4 separate regions of the Homo sapiens genome follow, and all the other regions are linked to region 1. Evidence: promoter capture Hi-C in 16 types of primary human blood cells and fetal thymus (Javierre and others, 2016). All regions are on one chromosome and are shown on one strand. Each heading gives the region's core, a stretch centred on a gene start or on the middle of the fragment in contact. The rest is flanking DNA. Distances are from core to core; before and after follow the strand shown.

Region 1 (2,752 bases), core at 1-2,500:
AGCTCCCGTCATCCCTTTCACGAAGAACGTACGTGGGCGCGCAATCACGCATGTATGCACACCACGCACGTACGCGGGAGGCACGTACTCAGCCATGCATATAGACAGCAAACATTATGAATCTCGCATTCTCGAAGACACGCACTGACGACATCACGCACGTACGCACGCCCTGGCTGCTAGGAGACGCTATTCTCTTTACCTGGCCCTGATGCGCGCCAGCCAACCAGGCCAAGGCCAGGGGACCTCGAGACCGGCAGCCTCGACGAAGAACCGGAAGGAGGAAAAGGAACGGGAGGGAGGAAGAGTAAGTGGAAGGGTGGGACGAGGACACCAGGCAGGAGTTTTGGGCCCAGAGCTGCTATACCAGCAGGGAGGAGCTGGGAGAAACCGCTGGGGAGGGGGTGGAGGCGGGGCTGAGAGGAGGAGGGCGGAGCTGGGGGAGGGGCCGAGCGGGACTGACAGAAACAATTGGGGGCTGGGTTGAGGGCGGGGCTGAGATAAGAGGCGGGGTGTGGGGCAGGGCCGGGCGGGGCTGAGAGAAACCATTGTGGGCAGGGCCGTGGGAGAGCTGAGCGAGGAGAAGCTGCAGGAAGAGCTCGCGGACTCTTGAGAATCAGCAGGGGGAGGCAGGTGTCCGCTGAGAGAAGGAGGGAGGGGGAGAAAGAAATCACTGGGAGGGGCTGGGGGCGGGGTTTTTAAAGCAGCTGCGTGAGAAGTAGGGCGGGGCTGGGAGAGGCGGGGCTCTGGGGGGGCTGAGAATGCTGGGGAAGGTTTGGGGGCGGGGCTTTGGAGGCAGCCACAGGAGAAGCAGGTCGGGGCTGCGGGCGGGGCTCGGGGTGGGGCGGGGCTGAGAGAAACTGCTGGGGAGGGGGCCGAGGGCGGGGCTTTGGGAGCAGCCGCGGGAGAAGCGGGGCGGGGCAGGGAGGGGAGGGGCGGGGCAGGGAGGGGCGGGGCTGAGAGAAACTGCTGGCTGAGGTCGGGGCTTTGGAAGCAGCCCCGCGAAGAGCAGGGCGGGGCAATGGGAGAACTGAGCGAGGAGCAGCTGCGGGAGGACCCCTCGGACTCCTGAGAACCAGCTTAGGGGAGCGGGGGCTTGGGGAGGTGTAGGGTGGAATCACGAGAAAGCTCTGTGGGAGGGCCTGGTGCACAGCTCAGCTGCAGCGTGGAGCTGAGGGAAAGCCGGGCGTTCCTGGAGGAGGAGCAGGGCGGGGCTGTGGCAAAGAGGTGTGGGAGCAGATGGGGCGGGGCTGCGGGAAATTGCTGGAGAAGGGGGAGCCAAGCTGGAGTAAGGCTGGCGGGTGAGAATGGTGGGGGAGGAGCTAGTGCAGAGCTGGAGGAAAGAGCTGAAAGGTGCTGGGGTGGGCAGAGGGGTAGGAGAAGCGGGACGGGGCTAGAGGAGGCGGAGCTGGGACTGGAGATGCAGGGTGAGCAGGGTGGGGCTGCAGCAGGAACTGGGTTAGAGCTTCTGGAGGAGCCGCCTGCAAGAGGAGGGCGTAGTTGTGGGAAAGAGCTGTGGGTGGAACTGGTTAAGTGCTGGGAGGAGGAAGAGCTGGGGGCGGAACAGCTGGGGCGGAGCTGCCGGAGGAGGAGCTGGGGGTGGAGATGCTGGTGAAATGAAGCAGAGCCGAACTGGGGGTGGAGCTGTGGGTGGAGCTGGGGGAGGGAGCTGAGGCCCTTCTGTGATGCACCCTTAGGCAAGAGTCAAAACTTGCCCGCAGCGACCTAACTGCACCTCCAGTGTCTACCCCCATAGGGCACGGAAGCAGCAAGAAGGGCGGGAACACTTGACTGGGGTCTATGCAGCTCTAGGCTGAGTCTTGCAGGGCTGAGCCCCCCAGGCCTGCTCTCCTGTGTCCTAGCCGCTCTGTCAGTGCCTGCCAGTGGGGTCCGGAGGAACCGTCTCTTTAACGTCTCTTTTGCAGGTGATGAGAAACATCCCCACTCTTAATGTCTTGCCTCCTCCGACCTAAGTCGCCCAGCACACAGCCCAACTTCCCTGGCAAACTTGCTTTTCAAACTCTCTTCTCTCAGTCACGGGCTCAGGTTCTGTAGTGCTGCCATGCTTTACTCCTCTGTCCCTCCCCTTATCTAGTCTCCCGCATTGACTTCATAACCAAGTTCTGGGTCCCTGCCTCTGGAGTGCCTGATGAGACAAAACGGCTCCTCGTCCTGCATCCCCGCTGCTACTTCCAGAATTCAGGCCTCGTGGTCTGGAGCCTGCACTGTTCCATGAGCCTCCTGAGCAACCTGGAGTCCTCTGTCTTTCTTCCCTCAGGTCTGTCGTCCACATTCCATCGGCTCAGTTTCTAAGTCACAAATCTGTCCCCAGCAATCCTCTAGTGAAAACGCTGCTGGGCCTTCTCAGGTTTAAGTCCTAGCAGTTCAGGGAGTCGGCTCAGCTCTCCCCACCCTTAAGCCAAACACTCTTTGGGTTCACGCTGTGCTGTTCAGTCACTGGTCCCCACCAGCCTGCTGTTCCAGGTCTCCCTGCTTTGCACCGGCGGTTCCCATGGCCTTGTCCTGGTGCGCTCCTGGCCTCCTTCAAGGCACAACTTTAAAGTCACCTTCACAGCCCCACTCCGAGTATTAGAGACTTTCGTCTCCAGCTCTGATAGCATTTTGTACCTCCCCCGTCCCCACCCCACGTTAGGCTCTTGCAACCCAGGGTGGTAATTGCTCTGTAAGACTTGTGGCTGCCGCAGGGTCTCTTGAGTTCCTTGAAGGCAAGGCCGGTGTTTTACTCATTTCT
Region 2 (2,752 bases), core at 141-2,640, 1.5 Mb after region 1:
ACTTCACTGCAAAATATTTCAGGATGTATTTTCCAAGAATAAACTGATTCCTATAACCACAATACCAACACACCTAAGAAAGTCACCATGAATTCAATATCATCCAGCATCCAGTCTTCACTAAAATTCCTTCGATTATCCTCCAAAATATCCTTTATAGCTTCTGTTTTTCCAATCCAAGATCCACTCAAGATTCACTCAGAGCATTTGAGTGTCTCTTTAAAGAGTCCAGGTAGGATGTCCTCCATCATACCTCACATTCTAGAATTGCCTCTTTCCTCGCTATGATAGTTAGATCAAACATTTCCAGCAAGAACATCACATAAATGACGTTGTGTACCTTCCTCTTGATCATACTGAAGGCACATCATCAAGCAAAACCACTATTGGCATTGCCAAGCTTGACCACTTGGTTAAAGTGATGACCACCAGACTTTTCCATTGAGAAAGCACATTTTTTCTCTTTAAAAGTAGTCTGTAGAGTGATATTTTGAGACTTATTTTCAACATTTTACCCAGTCATATTAGCATCCTCTGATGATCCTTACCTGAGCCAATTATTACTTTGGGTGTTAAAAAGTATTGCTTTTCTAATTATTTTATTCCTTCTACATTTAGTAGCTGGCATTCTTCTGTTTTAAAAAAAACACACTGGGAATTCTTTTTTCTCCTCTCCTTTTATTTTACTTTGAATATTACCATGAATTTATGGATTTTTTTTTCTTAACTCAATGTACTATAAACTATTACCAAATTTTTTTTATGTTTAAATTATCCCAGACTTGGCCAGTGGGTGTCCCTTCAAGTTGCTTCCTGTGTCCTTATGAAATGTCCCCATCATTCTCTGATCACTTTCTTACTTTCTGGTTGTATTAATCCATTTTCATACTGATATGAAGAAATACCCGAGACTGGGTAATTTATAAAGAAAAAAGAGGTTTAATGGACTCAAGTGCCACATGGCTGGTGTGGCCTCACAATCATGGTGGAAGGCAAAGGAGGAGCAAAGGTATGTCTTACATGGCAGCAGGCAAGAGAGCATGTGCAGGAGAACCGCCCTTTATACAACCATCAGATCTTGTAAGTCTTATTCACTACCATGAGAACAGCAGGGAAAAAAAACCCTTCTCCATGATTCATTTGCCTCCCACTGGGTCCCTCTCACAACATGTGGGGATTATGGGAGCTACAATTCAAGATGAGATTTGGGTGGGGACATAGCCAAACCATATCACTGGTATAGCAAGATATCTATATCTAGGCTCACATTGTGCTTGTACTTTCACTGAAATCAGTAGTTTCTCCAAAGAAACCTGATTAGTTTAAGTAAGAAATGATGCATAGAAACAAATATCTTGGTGTTAGGTATGTATGCTACTACAGGGTCATTACTCCTATATCCAGTCAATCAATGAACAGAGATAGAAATACATACACACACACTCACACACACACACACACACACACACACGCATGCACGTATTTTAATCATGAGTTCAGAGGTCTTCTATGATTGAGTAGCTTGTAGTAGAGATGAATATTTTAACAAGAAAAAGTAGAAAAGGCAGGTTTTTATAAACATTTTTTGAGAAGAAATAAGAAGGCTACTAAGGTAGCCAGGACTTGAGAAACTAGATCCAGAAAGAAGGGAGCTCATTAAGGTGAGCTTACTTCATGGACACTTATTTTCCTCCTTGATGTTTTTGGCATGGAGAATGAGATAAAGAATTTAGCAGAGCAGTTTTAGGTCACCTCTTGGGGCTGGGGAGATTAAAAGTGTTCAGTGGACAATGCAGCTAGGTGTTGAGAGACCAAGCTCTCAGAGAGATAGAAGGGACAGAGAATAGAACCTAGCGCTTGGAACCAGTGTTCTTCTAGAGGCATTTACAGTTTAAACTGTGCAGAAAATTAGGGTAAGAAGCCAATCAGAAAGCATCAACAAAGTAGAGCAAGCAAGCAGGCTCACAATGTTCGAGGGTGAAAAATTGGAGTTCATGACCTTATAAGTAGGAGGAGTTCCAACAAACAACCCTGATTCTTAGTTGGAACTCCTAGAGAGCTACGCCCTAGAAGTGGGAGTAAACCAGAAGCAAACTGGGACATACAAAGACCGCAAATTAGCTTTCAGTTAGCAAAGCCCCAAGTTGAATTACATTTATCTAATTCTCTGCTGCCTGACAGAGGAAAAGGCAATATCCTCTGAAGGAAGATAACATGATCTGGAGTCTCTATATGTTTCATACACAATGTTGGGCATTCAGTCAAAACCATTTTTTATATGACAAAGAGTTGTATTCTTTTAAACTCTGAAGAAACAATAAGAGAAACATAAGCACTTTCATTTTTTAAAACAATCTTCTTTTCAGGTATTAAAGCTTTTCAGAGTTTAAATCAAAACTTCAATCTCATTCTGAATTCAAATCTTCTCTTCAATCTCAGTTTAGGCCTCATCTCTTGGGTCAGAAATAGGCAGGGAGGAGGAGGGTCTAATCCTTCACGTTCTTGATCTATTCAGTAAAAATTACTGACATACAAATAAATAGGAGCAAGAGAAAAAGAGAGAGGCTAGAAACAGAAACAGGTAATATTGGAGTTATCAGACCAAGACTTTAAAATAATTGTGATGAACAGGTTCCACAGAATTGGAATCTACAATAAAAAGCCAAATGGAAGTCTGGAACAGGAAATAAAATAGCTAAAATTAAGAGCTCAACAGATGGATTTAACAGCAGATTGGGCAAAGTTGAAAATG
Region 3 (2,752 bases), core at 176-2,675, 1.2 Mb before region 1:
AATAGTCTTAATTAACAGGCCAATCTTCAGGATGACTCGGTATTAAATCAGGCATTTATTAATTTAGCTGCCACACAATTCAGTATAATAGCTATCTACTCTTTCAGCTGGGACAATGCTTGCCAAACTTGCCATTTCACATACCACCTCAACAAGTTTGGCTTGCTGTATCTGCCAACTGCCCATACTAATTTTGTATTTATCTTTATATTGATTTAAAATCCATTCCTTTTTAATACTTTGCCTGCTCTAAGCCATAACATCTACTAAATCACAAGCCTGATGTGCTGATTTTTCTAATACACAAGAAAATAATTACATAGCTACTAAAATACGTCCATGGACATACCATCTAAACTCATGTCACGTGATACCAGCGATATTCTTACTGTACTTTAGATGAGCTGACCCTGGGCTGACTGACAATTTATGATATGAGTAAATAATAAAATAATTATTCTCCAATATCTGAGTTGCTAATTATTCAGATTCTTAGTAATATACCAGAAATGCAGGGTCCCATCACCAATTTCAACAGACAGAAACTCAGGAAGCCTAGGTTTTCAGATTTTATCATGCATAAGAAATATATGAGACACTTGTTTCCCTCCCTCAGACACTCTGATTCAGTAAATCTGGGATGGAGCCCGGGAAGCTGCATTTTTACAGGTGCTCCAGAGAATGCTGTCTTGGGAAGACCCAAGGGTCACATTTTGAAAAACAGTGGATGAGGCTGGGTATGGTGGCTCACACCTCTAATCCCAGCATTTTGGGAGGCCGAGATGGGAGGATCGCTCGAGCCCAGGAGTTCAAGACCAGCCTGGGAAACGTAGTAAGACCCCATCTCTATAAAAAAAAAAAAAAGAAAGAAAGAAGAAGAAGAAAAAGAAGAAAAAAAAAGATCGAAAAGCAGTGGATGGGAATGGGGGTGGGACAAAATCTTAAAATCACTCTAGCTTTTCAATAGGATGACTTGAGTTCAAATCCCAAGTCTAACTGTATGACCCTAAGCAAGTCATTTCATCTCTCTAGGCCTCGGTTTCCTCATCCATTAAATGATGATTGTAGTAATAGCTACCTCAATGGACTTTTTTAAAGAAGCAAGATCTCTCTATGTTGTCTAGGCTAGAGTGCATTGGCTTTTCACAAGTGTGACCACAGCACACTGCAGCCTTGAACTCCTGGACTCAAGTGATCCTCCCATCTTAGCCTTCCAAGTAGCTGAGACTACAGACCACCACACCCAGATTCACTAGGTTGTTTTAAGGCTTAAATGGATGACATGTCAAAAAGCATTACAAAACCCCAGAGCCTGTATGTGTTAGAGGGTTGATGATGATGATGATGATGATGACATAGAACCATTCTCGACAGCCTGTTACAACTCAGAAGACAATCAGCATTTCAAATAAGATGCCAAGCATTCTGCTCCACATAAACATCTGCTCCCATTTAATTACTGATGTTGAGTTTAATCTATAATAAATTAGCCCCCAAATTAAGTGTGTATTTCAAATAAGACATTTACACAACAGATAATTTCAAATATCAGCTGATGACTGCAACTTAAATCCTCAAGGAACTTTATCTGGCTCTTCAGGGTCAACCCCATGCAATAGCTCCCATGCCAGAGGGGTCCCAAAGGCCCATTTTGGTTACCCTGATTTTAAGAACTACTTTATAGGGAACATGTACAATTATCCTTGTGGTTTAGAAATATTTTATGTATTTATTATGTAAAAAAAAAAACTCTCCTTGAAGAAAGTGTAACAACCCCTGAGTTATAAATTTAACACCAACTTTTCAGATTTGGCTGCAGGGCAAATATAACAAAGACAATTATAAAACATGCCCCCTTACAATAATTCATCAAAGACTTTAGCTATGATCTGATGTAGGAACTTAAAATTTAATTTCCAAAAGAAAGAAAGCCTTATTTTTTCTGAATACCATCTGTTCAACCATTCCAACATGAGCTAATTCAGCTACACAAAATTTGTAAATAGACTGAGATTGAAAAAACTTAGTTGCTTCATGTTAAAGTACAGATTCAGTCTGATCTATTCATGCAATGTTAGAAAGCTATGCACACAGTCGACATTCAATCTTTTATAGGACACACACAACACTAACAACTATTCAACCTTAATGAAAACATTACAGTTAACTCATAATTGTCCATAAAGAAAATCACCCCGAAGTGTGAGAGCTATTCTCTGCTAAAATGGGTTCTTAAGTCTCTCTACTCAGCGGGCAGTTTCTCAGCTAAGGTGCAGGCAATAGGGCAACTGGAACTGATGCGATCCGCAGCTGCTCAGTGACCAGCCATTCACGCATCAGTGATGCAGCAAATGCTTCTCCCACCTGGAGACAGTGTGTTTGCCCGACCAGGTTTTAAGGTCCAGGAGCCCCAGCTGCTCTTTTATGGGCAAACATGAACACCACATAGCAGGAAAAATGATTAAGAAATACACTGTCACTCTTCTAGCTGGGCAGATTATCCAATTTCTGCTAATCCACAGCTATGCCTTCCTTTGGTAGGCATAATCAACAGCATCTGCCAGTTTGGATGAGGCAAGAGACAGCACCATAGCCAAATCTCAATTAATTGGCCTCCTGAGCCTGTTTCTGCACTTGTTATTACCCTATGAGCTCTAAAGAGGAACTGAAGATAAAGCTCCTAAACAAGGAGTACCTATTAAGAATTAATTAGGATCTTTACTGTAATTCTTGATATTTGTAAGATTTGATG
Region 4 (2,752 bases), core at 146-2,645, 1.2 Mb after region 1:
AAAGCTATGGGGTATCTGGTCCTTCCAAAGACACCAGGGCTCCAGGTAACCACTCCCTGGTATTAGGAAAAGTAAGCACATAAGATTTACATGGCAATTACATTTGTCAAGGTGCAGGCCATCCATGTTTTCCCTATCTTCCTGAAAACACATATTCCAGTGAGGTACACAGAAGAGGTTTTTGCCCTCCATGCAAAATGGGGTTGCTGTGTATCCCTCTAGAAAATCAAATGAGATAACATACACTTAGAATAGTATCTGGGGTGTAGTTAGTTATCACTCAATGACCATCATTGTTATTTCTGAAGAAAATCAGGTCACATTTTCTGCCACTAAACTTTCAGCCAGCGGTTTTCTTCTAGCTGGCTGAGATGCATTTTGCTGGACTGAGATTTCCATGGATCTGGTGCAAAATTCTAAAAGATGGGGACTGCTTGCCCTTCCTTGCTAGTTCTACTCCACATCATTTCTGCTACAGTGGAACCCACTTTGATTTGGCTTCTGAGTTGATTATTGGTACACAGGCCTTCCCTCTGATAGTTAAAAACATTTGACTGCTGCTTCTGCTTGGACACTGTTGCTATGCTTGGGATTTTTACCCCCAATGGATCTGACCATTCTAGCAAAGTGCAGCCAGTGACAATAAGTAGAACAGAAGGCAAGAGTGATGTATTTTAGAGTATAAATGGGGCCCAAGCCACAGATTTATCATACACGTGTGTCCCTTTTTGCATGTTTTTGGGTTTTTGTGTTATCTTAGTGTTACAAGATGACTGATTTCTTGTGTTCAAAGACTTTACATATGAAATGGGTCATTCCGATGACCCAGCCCAGAGACTCTAGTGATGAATTTGAGCAAGAATGGTCACTGATCTTCCTGAGACGGGCCCCCAAAGGTTAGGGTTTACATTAGACTTCCTGGAATTCTCTGAGAGCCCAGTAAGATTATCACTCATTATATGATCTAAGCCAATCGACAGCCCAAAGCTTCCCATCATCAAGGCCACCTTTATAAAGAACTCTCCTCACTGGGGACTACACATTTTGAAATATTTTGCTATATCAAACAGCATTTATTTATTTGAATAGCCTTCTTTACCACCTGCATTTATGAGGGAGTAATTAAATAAATTTTCCCTTTTAAAGAATTAATTGAAAGGATTGGGTAACTCCCAATTAGTTTCTTGTCAGCATGAGATGCCCTCAAGTTTCTGCAAAATAGAGGTGATACTAGTCATAACCTCAGGGTTGTTATGAGGAGTAAAGGAAGTGGAACAGTGGCTGGCATACAGAAAGTGTTCAGTCAGGGTTAGCTATCATGGCTGTGAAGGTGAGGTTAAAGGATTGATGGACCTGACAGAATCCTTAGCCCAAAGTCAAAGCACTTGTGACTTTGTCTGCCTGCCCGGTCTGAAAGGGAGCGTATGTAAATTCTCTGTCTGGTTGGGAGGATTATTGTTTGTTTCACATTGAGAAAAACTTGTGGACCTCTATTATGCCCTCTAGACCTCTAGGTGTCCAGGGAATGACCTAGGCTCCTTCTCAAGCCAGTCTTTTCAGGCTCTACAATTTGAGGTTAAAAATACAATTAGTATTTTTGTTCCCTAAGACACAGAAGACAACTGCCTTTAATTTGTTCTAAAGTGCTTTCTTTCAGTTTCAGGATGTGTACAAGGCATACTGGGAAGGAAGTTTTTCTTTCACTTTAGCAACCCAGGACTTAATGAGTAAAGCCAGCATGACCTATTTATAACTTGCAAAGGCGGCGGGGTAGTATGTAGGGTAATTAGAGACATAAGCTTTGAGTCATGCAGACGTGGCTTCTCTCCCTGACCCTGTCACTCACTGGCTCTGTGACTTTGGTCAAGTCCCTTTCACTCTCTGAGACTGTTTCGTCACCTACGAAGTGTAGGTTATATTAATACCTATCTCATACGAATGTACAACAGGTAGAGGACACACATAGAAGGGGGAGAGAGAGGTATCCGTGCCATCCTTGTTTTCTTTCTGCTCATTAGCATACCCAGGATCATTTCCCCTCTCAGCCTTTCCCATTCCAGGTTAACAAATCCAAACCTCTACAATGTGTCTAGTCAAAAGACAAAAGGTAGGATGGCATTTTGGTTAACATGAGTCTCATTTCATCTGAGAAAAGGAAGGTAAGCTGGGAACAGATTAAAGCAAACTAGCTATGAGACAGGCAGGCTGGTTGGTTCCCTGTTTTAATATGGTCTGGAGTAAAAGAATGCAAGTTCCTTACTCAAGCTGTAGCTTACCTAACTCTCAACCAATCAGTAATAAAAGACCCAAGAAGCTGTTAACCACAAATTCCTGCTTCGGGGGCTAGGGACTTCCCCAGGGCCCTGCATGTGCAGTTAGAGTTAAACTTCGAACTACAGTTACCCCTTCCTTATTTTAATGTTAAAAATCATGCCCAGAGGTGGAGATGTAAAATGCTAATTCTACATATGATGTATGAAAAAGCATGTTGAGCCAATGCACAAGCACTAGAAAAATCCCTCCTACTCCTATACATGCTCGAATGTAATACTTTCCTGTAGAAAACTCCTGTAAACCTAACTCACAGACTACCCTCGATAAGCAACCCATTTCTTTTCCCTTCTTGGTGCTGACTCCCCTGTGCACAAGCGGAATAAACTTTCCTTTGCTGCTATGTTTGGTTATCTCTTTTGGTTTCTATCCTGGGCAATCACAAGAATCCATGATGCTGGTAACATTTTGTGGCACCCCA

What was found. Contacts are between HindIII fragments. The CHiCAGO score rates a contact against its expected background, and 5 or more counts as called.
Region 2: a contact is called between a fragment that was not itself captured here and the fragment with the promoter of EOLA1-DT in region 1, in 1 of 17 cell types (M0 macrophages). The highest score is 6.1, in M0 macrophages.
Region 3: a contact is called between a fragment that was not itself captured here and the fragment with the promoter of EOLA1-DT in region 1, in 1 of 17 cell types (M0 macrophages). The highest score is 8.8, in M0 macrophages.
Region 4: a fragment that was not itself captured here is called in contact with the fragment with the promoter of EOLA1-DT in region 1 in 1 of 17 cell types (M2 macrophages); the score reaches 7.2 in M2 macrophages.

What each region holds. Positions count from the first base shown.
Region 1 is chrX:149,538,250-149,541,001 of GRCh38, reverse strand. EOLA1-DT (EOLA1 divergent transcript) reads left to right here and starts at 1,250. Exons shown (of 10, transcript NR_027455.5): 1 at 1,250-1,301; 2 at 2,096-2,278. It also overlaps a transcript of EOLA1 not described here. RefSeq lists silencers at 397-587, 620-689, 700-1,009, 1,760-1,839. The HindIII fragment of the contact is 11,440 bases long and covers 1-2,752 here.
Region 2 is chrX:148,046,686-148,049,437 of GRCh38, reverse strand. No RefSeq gene overlaps it. Among named protein-coding and RNA genes, the nearest start is that of FMR1NB, 67 kb to the right of the region's middle. The HindIII fragment of the contact is 1,975 bases long and covers 403-2,377 here.
Region 3 is chrX:150,700,201-150,702,952 of GRCh38, reverse strand. The region is part of intron 2 of MTMR1 (myotubularin related protein 1); the gene reads right to left. Among named protein-coding and RNA genes, the nearest start is that of MTMR1, 8.2 kb to the right of the region's middle. The HindIII fragment of the contact is 4,353 bases long and covers 1-2,752 here.
Region 4 is chrX:148,380,379-148,383,130 of GRCh38, reverse strand. No RefSeq gene overlaps it. Among named protein-coding and RNA genes, the nearest start is that of AFF2, 120 kb to the left of the region's middle. RefSeq lists an enhancer at 1,580-1,669. The HindIII fragment of the contact is 812 bases long and covers 990-1,801 here.